Regions from separate parts of the Homo sapiens genome. Here region 2 is linked to region 1. Evidence: promoter capture Hi-C in human tissues and cell types (Jung and others, 2019). All regions are on one chromosome and are shown on one strand. Each heading gives the region's core, a stretch centred on a gene start or on the middle of the fragment in contact. The rest is flanking DNA. Distances are from core to core; before and after follow the strand shown. Region 1 holds the start of GLB1L (galactosidase beta 1 like). Region 2 overlaps CNOT9 (CCR4-NOT transcription complex subunit 9).

Evidence for each region. Contacts are between HindIII fragments. The study calls those that stand out against the background at their distance.
Region 2: a contact is called between a fragment that was not itself captured here and the fragment with the promoter of GLB1L in region 1, in 1 of the 25 tissues and cell types used here (spleen).

Annotation. Positions count from the first base shown.
Region 1 is chr2:219,243,944-219,247,416 of GRCh38, reverse strand. GLB1L (galactosidase beta 1 like) reads left to right here and starts at 1,973. Exons shown (of 17, transcript NM_001286423.2): 1 at 1,973-2,188. It overlaps STK16 (serine/threonine kinase 16), which reads right to left and starts at 1,938. Exons shown (of 8, transcript NM_001330213.2): 1 at 1,621-1,938; 2 at 1,332-1,521; 3 at 541-760; 4 at 171-304; 5 at 1-2. The coding sequence starts at 1,417. RefSeq lists enhancers at 1,797-2,226, 1,675-2,257. The HindIII fragment of the contact is 8,716 bases long and covers 1-3,473 here.
Region 2 is chr2:218,583,203-218,587,102 of GRCh38, reverse strand. It overlaps CNOT9 (CCR4-NOT transcription complex subunit 9), which reads right to left. Exons shown (of 8, transcript NM_005444.3): 4 at 2,382-2,491. Among named protein-coding and RNA genes, the nearest start is that of CNOT9, 16 kb to the right of the region's middle. The HindIII fragment of the contact is 4,719 bases long and covers 1-3,900 here.

The DNA of each region.
Region 1 (3,473 bases), core at 724-3,223:
CTCTGTAGAGAAGTAGAAGTGACCTATGAGCATCTCTGGACAGGAAGGCTGGAATCCCAGCAAGCAAAAGAATCATACAGGCTGTTTCTTGGGAGAACAGAGACCTCCCATGTCTCCTGGTGAGGCTCTTCCTCTGGGCCCCAGCAAGCACACAGGGTCCTCCCACTGACCTGTGGGCATAACCCTTGGCATGAATGGCCTCAAGGCCTCTGCAGATCCCCAGCAGCAGCCAAAGGATTTGATCCTCGGTCAGGAAGTTGCCTTTGTCCTTCAGCCTTTCTATCTCATTCCACAGCGTACCTCTCTGCAACACAAGTTTCCCTACAGTTGGAGATGTTTTTGGAGCCTCTGCTCCTTAGGCCTGATCCCTTCCCTATGTCAAAGCCTATCAGCCCTTTCATGATACACACCTCAAACTCAAAATCTAAAGTGGCCAAACCCAGGACATGGTCCCTGCTTCCTAACATGCTGGACTGCTCACACAGCCCTTGAGTAGGTGGCTCTGCTGCAACCCCCTCCATAACCAGGAGTCTTTCTGACCTTGAAGAATGGTAGCAGCAGCCAGGCCTCATGCTTAGCACCCCGTTCCCTCAGACAGTAAGCCACGAGGCGAAGGATGTTGGGGTGATTGAAGAGGCGATGCATGTCGGCTTCTCGCTGGGCCTCCTCCCGGTCCTGCTGCTCGTGACACAGGATTCGCTTCAGGGCGTAGAAGTGTCCATCATGTAACCCTTCCACTAGGTCCACATAGCTGAACCCACTGTGGGCCAAAGGGGTCAATAAAGGGCCATGGTCATCTCCCACATGGCTTGGACCTAGAGAAATTTCCTGGTGGGGAGTGGGGTGTCCTTCCCATTTAGCAGAAACCTTCCCAAGATGTGGCTCTAAGAGAAATCTGAAGAATATTACACCGTGAGCTCCTCAGGAGCAGAGATATAGAAATCTTTGAGGTCCTATGGTCGTAATAGAGACCTCTGCACTTGACAGATGCTAAATAAATAATAGCCAACACTTATCAAGTACTTGTCAACCCCGCATTGGGTGAGACATTTTATACACATTATCTCATTTAATCCTCACAACTCCATCAGTGAGGGATAATAATCATCTCCATTAAGCTGATGAAAAAAACATGGTTTATCAAGGTCACACGAGGTGGATTTAGCAGGCCTGGCTCCAGAATCCACCTTCTTGATACTGTGTAGCTAGGTTCTGTCAGGTGAGAGAGGACAGGGATAGGGATAAAACCCTTGTGCCCCAAGCATATGCACACCGCTGTCCTTCAATGATCATAAACTTGAGGACTAGTTAACTGACTTCCAAACACTCACCCCTCCCCCAGTTTCTGGATGAAGAGGTAGCGCTTATTGTCAATGATGACAGTTCCCCGAGAGCAGACACACAGCGCGTGGCCCATAATGTCTCAGTCATCCTCTTCAAGGACGGTCTGAGGCTACCGAAGAGCTCGTCCAGGGTGAGTGGGCTCTTCCAGGAGATGCGCTGGGGGCCCAGCGGATCATGCTGGAAAGAAAACAACGGCAGGGTCACAGGTCCGGCACAATCCAGACGACCCATGAAGTACCAATGCGGAGAGCTCAGGCCCAGGTCTCTGGAACCTACACTATAGTGTAGAGAAAACAGGCCCTGCTCCGTCGCCAGCTTCAGGGGTGGGGTCAGGCGCCTTACGGCCTCAGGACACACAGCGGCTACCGGGCCACTTCCTCCAACCCCAGCCCATCTTTGGGCAGCCCCCGCTCCCACGCCCATCGCGCCGCAAAAGCAGAGCATAGCGTAGTTTCAGAGGACGTGCGAGGCTCAGGCCCACTCCTGGCAGGGCCCACCCCGGTCTAGGAGCCCAGAGCCCGGGATGGGCCATCTGCACTGCCGGACTGACCTGGCTCGGGCCAGAGAGAAGCGCCACCGACCGGAAGCAGTGCTGACATCATCAGTCCGCGCCGGCGTAACGGCCCGCGGTATCTCAGCAACCGCTGGGCATCCGGAGGATGTGGGGACGCGGAGCTGAGAGGCTCCGGGCTAGCTAGGTGTAGGGGTGGACGGGTCCCAGGACCCTGGTGAGGGTTCTCTACTTGGCCTTCGGTGGGGGTCAAGACGCAGGCACCTACGCCAAAGGGGAGCAAAGCCGGGCTCGGCCCGAGGCCCCCAGGACCTCCATCTCCCAATGTTGGAGGTAGGAGGCTTCATACCTCTGGCGCTCTGGGGCAGAAAGCGGCCAACTACACTGCAGCCTGGAGGGGGATCCAGTGAGGGGCGGGTCTGGTGGCCTGGTCTCCTGATCCCGTACAACCTTCTGGGCTCTGGCCTGTATCCCACTACCCCTAGTCTCAGTGGTTAAGAGCTCAGGCTTGTGAACCAGACTTCCAGTTTCTAAATTGAGTGTTAATAGCATGCTAGCTGTGTAACCTCGGGCAAGTTACTTAACCTCTCGGATCCTTACTTTTGGTAGCTGTAAAATAGGTATAATAGTACATAAGGTTAAGTAGCTTAACTGTGAGGCCAGACTGACTAGTTCAAATGACAGCTCCGTTAACGTAGTTGTGTGACCTTGGACAGGCTACTTAATGTTTCTGTCCTTTCCTCTCCTCCTCTGTAAAATGGAAATAATTATCTACCTCATGGAGTTGAAGATTAAATGAGATGTACAGTGTTTAATACAATATCTGACACATAGCCTTCAGTACGTGTCAATAAACCGTAATTATTATTACCCTGATCTTCACATCCCATTCTTGAGACTGTAAAGGCAAAAGGAACGGAAATTCACAGATTTTCGAGCTTTGGCACAAAGCAGTTGTCCTTAATATCTGTTGCGGAGGCAGGCAGGGGTAAGCTGGAGAGGGGTGCACTTCCAAAGAAGGTGGAATGGCCAGGAGGGAATGGCTGTTTTGCTGAAACAGGACTCTCCAGGAAAGAGGTCCTTCTTGTGACCTGGTTCCTCCCTTCCACACCCCGGATCACCCTGAAGATTTTCCAATGGTTTCCCCTGGTTCTGAACCTGTTTTAGCCTTTTGGTTATGACATTGATTCATCCAGATTTAACCTACTATATACCCGGCCCTGTGCTAGAGGCTGAGGATTTGAGATGAACAGGGCACTCCCTGTCCTCAGGGAGCCCAGTCAAGTAAAGCCATGCTTCTCAATTTTGAAGGTGCCTAGGATCACCTGGGAATCTTGTTAAAATACAAATTCTGATTCTATAGGTCTGAGGTAGGATCTGAGATTTTACATTTCTTTTGTTTGTTTGTTTGTGTTTTTTGAGACAGAGTCTCGCTCTGTTGCCCAGGCTGGAGTGCAGTGGCAGGATCTCGGTTCACTGCAACCTCCGCCTTCCGGGTTCAAGCAATTCTCCTGCCTCAGCCCCTACCCCCACCCCCACCCCCACCCCCACCCCCACCCTCGGAGTAGCTTGGAATACAGGCGCGTGCCACCAGGCCCGGCTAATTTTTGTATTTTTA
Region 2 (3,900 bases), core at 753-3,252, 660 kb after region 1:
CAACTGACCATATATGTGTGGGTCTATTTCTGGACTCTTCATTCTGCTCCAATGGTCTGTAAATCTTTCTTTTCTCCAGTATTACACTGCCTTGACTACTATATTTTTCCAGTAGGTGTGGAACTCAGGTAGTATATGTCTTCCAACTTTGTTCTTTTAAAGAAATGTTTGGATATTCTAGTTCCTTTGGCTTTCCATATAAATCTTAGGATCAGTCTATTAGAAGGCTGCCATAACAAAATACCATAGACTGGTGGCTTAAACAACTGAAATTTATTGTCTCATAGTTCTAGCAGCTGAAAGTCTGAGATCAGGCTGGGCACAGTGGCTCACACCTGTAATCACAGCACTTTGGGAGGCTGAGGCAGCTGGATCACCTGAGGTCAGGAGTTCCAAGACCAGCCTGGCCAACATCGTGAAACCCTGTCTCTATTAAAAATACAAAAATTAGCCGGGTGTGGTGGCACGCACCTGTAGTCCCAGCTACTCGGGATGCTGAGGCAGAAGAATTGCTAGAACCCAGGAGGCGGAGGGTGCAGTGAGCCAAAATTATGCCACTGCACTCTAGCCTGGGCAACAGAGCAAGAATCTGTCTCACAAAAAAAAAAAAAAAAGCTGAGATCAGGGTGCCAGCATGGTATGGTATAGTTCTTGTAAAGTCTCTCTTCCTGGCTTGTAGATGGCCAGCTTCTCACTATGTCCTCACATGGCAGAGAGCGAATGAGGGAGCACAAGCTCTTTGGTGTCTCTTCTTAGAAGAATACTAACCTCATGAGGGCCATGTCCTCATCTAAACCTAATTATCTTTCAAAGGTCCCATCTCCAAATACCATGACATGAGGGGGTAGGGTTTCAAAGCATGAAATTTTGGGGAGGACACAATTCAGTCCATAGCAGTCAGCCTGCCAATTTCTAAAAAAAGTGCTGCTGGGATTTTGTTGGAATTACTCTGAATCTATAGATCAGTTTGGGGAGAATGAACAACTTAACAATACTGAATCATTGATACACCAATCAATGAACATGGTTTATCTCTGCATTTTATTTCATTAGAAATCAGTTTTGTAGTTTTTAGTTATAGATCATGCATATATTTTTAAAGATTTATACCCAAATTTTCACATTTCGGTGCTGTTATAAATGGCAGTTTAAAAAAATTTCAGCTAGGTGCAGTGGCTCACATCTGTAATCCCAGCACTTTGGGAGGCCAAGGTGGGAGAACCACTTGAGCCCAGAAGTTTGAGACAAGCCTGGGCAACAAAAAGTGAGACCTTGTGTCTACAAAAAAATAAAAAAATGTAGCCAGGTGTGGTGGCATGTGCCTATGGTTCCAGCTTCTCAAGGCTGAGGTGGGTGGATTTGTGTGATCCCAGGAGTTTGAGGGTGCAGTGAGCCATGATCATGCCACTGCACTCAAGAGTGGGCAACAGAGCAAGACCTTGTCTCAAAAAAAAAAAAAAAAAATAAAATAAAAAATAAATTTCCTATTGTTCATTGCTAGTACATGGAAATTTAATTTTTTTTTTTTGAGTCTCCCTCTGCCGCCCAGGCTGGAGTGCAGTGGCGTGATCTTGGCTCACTGCAATCACTGCATCTCCACCTCCCAGGTTCAAGCGATTCTCCTGCCTCAGCCTCCCCAGCAGCTGGGACTACAGGCACATGCCACCACGCCCGGCTGATTTTTGCATTATTTTTTTAGTAGAGACTAAAAAAAAAGTAGATGAAAAAATTTAACTGGGTGAACTGACAGATTCATATTCCTGGAGTTATGGGAGAATTACAGGTTTTCAGAATGCTTAGTGTATTTGACATGCATATTCTTAGGGCATTTCAGATATACGAAGCATTCCGGTATTAGAAGTAAGACAAACAAACAAAAAAAGACAGTGGTGTGTGCCTGTGCCCATGGTCCCTATTACTTGGGAGGCTGAGGCAGGAGGATCACTTGAGCCTAGGAGTTCAATTCCAGCCTGGGTAACACAGCAAGACCCTATCAGAAAGAAAAGAAAAGAAAAGAAGAGAAGAGAAGAGAGAAGGGAAGAGGAGAAGTCCCAAATTTAAACTCTTATTCCTTTAATAATACTCTTTATATATTGAATCAAGTTCTTATGCTTTACTCTCCCTACAATTCCAGCAAATGTTTCCACATATATGCTGAATTTAATCCCAAATGTTGGATCTCAAAGTCTTATTAACAACACTTAGAAGAGTGCTTGATAGGAGTCATCATGTTCCTGATACTTATTGATTAGTGAATGAGACAACCTCAAAGACAAAAATGAATGACTGGTGTACAAAAATCATAACCGGCAAGACAAAACACCCAACTTAGACTACTACTGTGAGTATTTCAGGCTTGCAAAACAATTCTAATAACTTACCAATAACTCCAAGGCTGGTGAGCCGGAGATACTCAAAGGGACGTGTTTTGCTGACAGTGTGCAAAAAGGGGTACAAAAAAAGTGGGATGTGTGCTGCGAGAAACGCTGACCTGGAAGAAAACAATAATTACATTCACAGCCCAGGGTTGATTTCTAAGGATCCTGAACTTTCAAATTTCTAGGTGGTTAATTCTGTAAGGCCTTAACATTGTCAGAGCAAGGAATCCTTAGGAAAACAATGTTACTGGTCATTAGTCTCAACCAATGGTTCTCAAATGGGGTAAATTTTGCCCCCTGGAGGACATGTGGCAATGTCTGGAGACATCTTTGATTGTCACAACTCAGGATTATGAAGCACTATTGGCATCCAGTGGGAAGAGGCCAGAGATGCCATTAAACATCCTACAATGCACAGGACAGTCCTCTCCTGCCCTCTCCTTTCCATCACAAAGATTCATCCAGCCCCAAATGGTAATGGTGCCAAAGCTGAAAACCCTAGTCCAGATCACAGTGGTTAAGAAAACACATGATTTTCCCTGTAATCAGCAAAAAGTACCTTACAAACTGATTAACTTAAAATATCCAATTGTGGATTTTAAAAAATAGACCACAAAATGCTATTAAGTGTCCAAGAGATTGTCCTAGATTATCTCCCTCACCTATGACTGAATAATAGTATTCACAGGTGCAGTCGAATAAACCTTACAAACCAATACAACAAAACAAAGCAGCCATTATCAGGCTTACCTGCTATACTTTAATAAGCACATTCTTCTTTTTTTGTTAGGGCATTTCAGATACACAAACCATTCTGAAAACAGTTTAGTCAGGCAACTAATAAGGAAATCAGTCTATTATTTTATATTATTTATAGTTACACCTTGTAGAAGAGCCAACGCCCAAGATTTTTAACACTCAAAGTACTCTTGTGTTTTTGTTAAGTGCTTAAAAGTAATTTTCTTAGTAATTTCTCTAAAGCTGTGTAAGGTCAGTGCCAACCTAGCATACATATTTCATAAGGAAACTTGACAAAGAGGAAAGGCTTTAATAAGATGACTATTAAGTGCCTTTGGGGCCATAAAAGCCCACAAAGTAGATTCCTGAACAGGATTTCCCTTTTCTTAATTTTTTAGATATGACAGGTGGCAAAAATATTTTAACTTACATGCCAATTCTCGTCTATTATAGAGGCCGCCCAGAATGCTATGTTAAGAAGGATTCTGAAGTCAAATCTGGGTTCAGTGTGGGAAAAGTGCTGGAAAAATAATTACTAAACTCCTCTTATATGCCATGCACTATGCCTCACAGATGACATAGTGTCAATAACAGGTCAGGGAGTGAGAAGTAGCTGTATGCCTGATACCTTTCCTGTAATGTGAACACTGTTTCTTTAAAGTTCATTGGGTAAAAGTAAATAAGAATCCGGAAGACCAGGAGAGAGAGAGAGAGAGAGAGAGAGAGAGAGAGAGAGAGAGAGAGAGAGAGAGACACACACACACACACACACACACACACACAC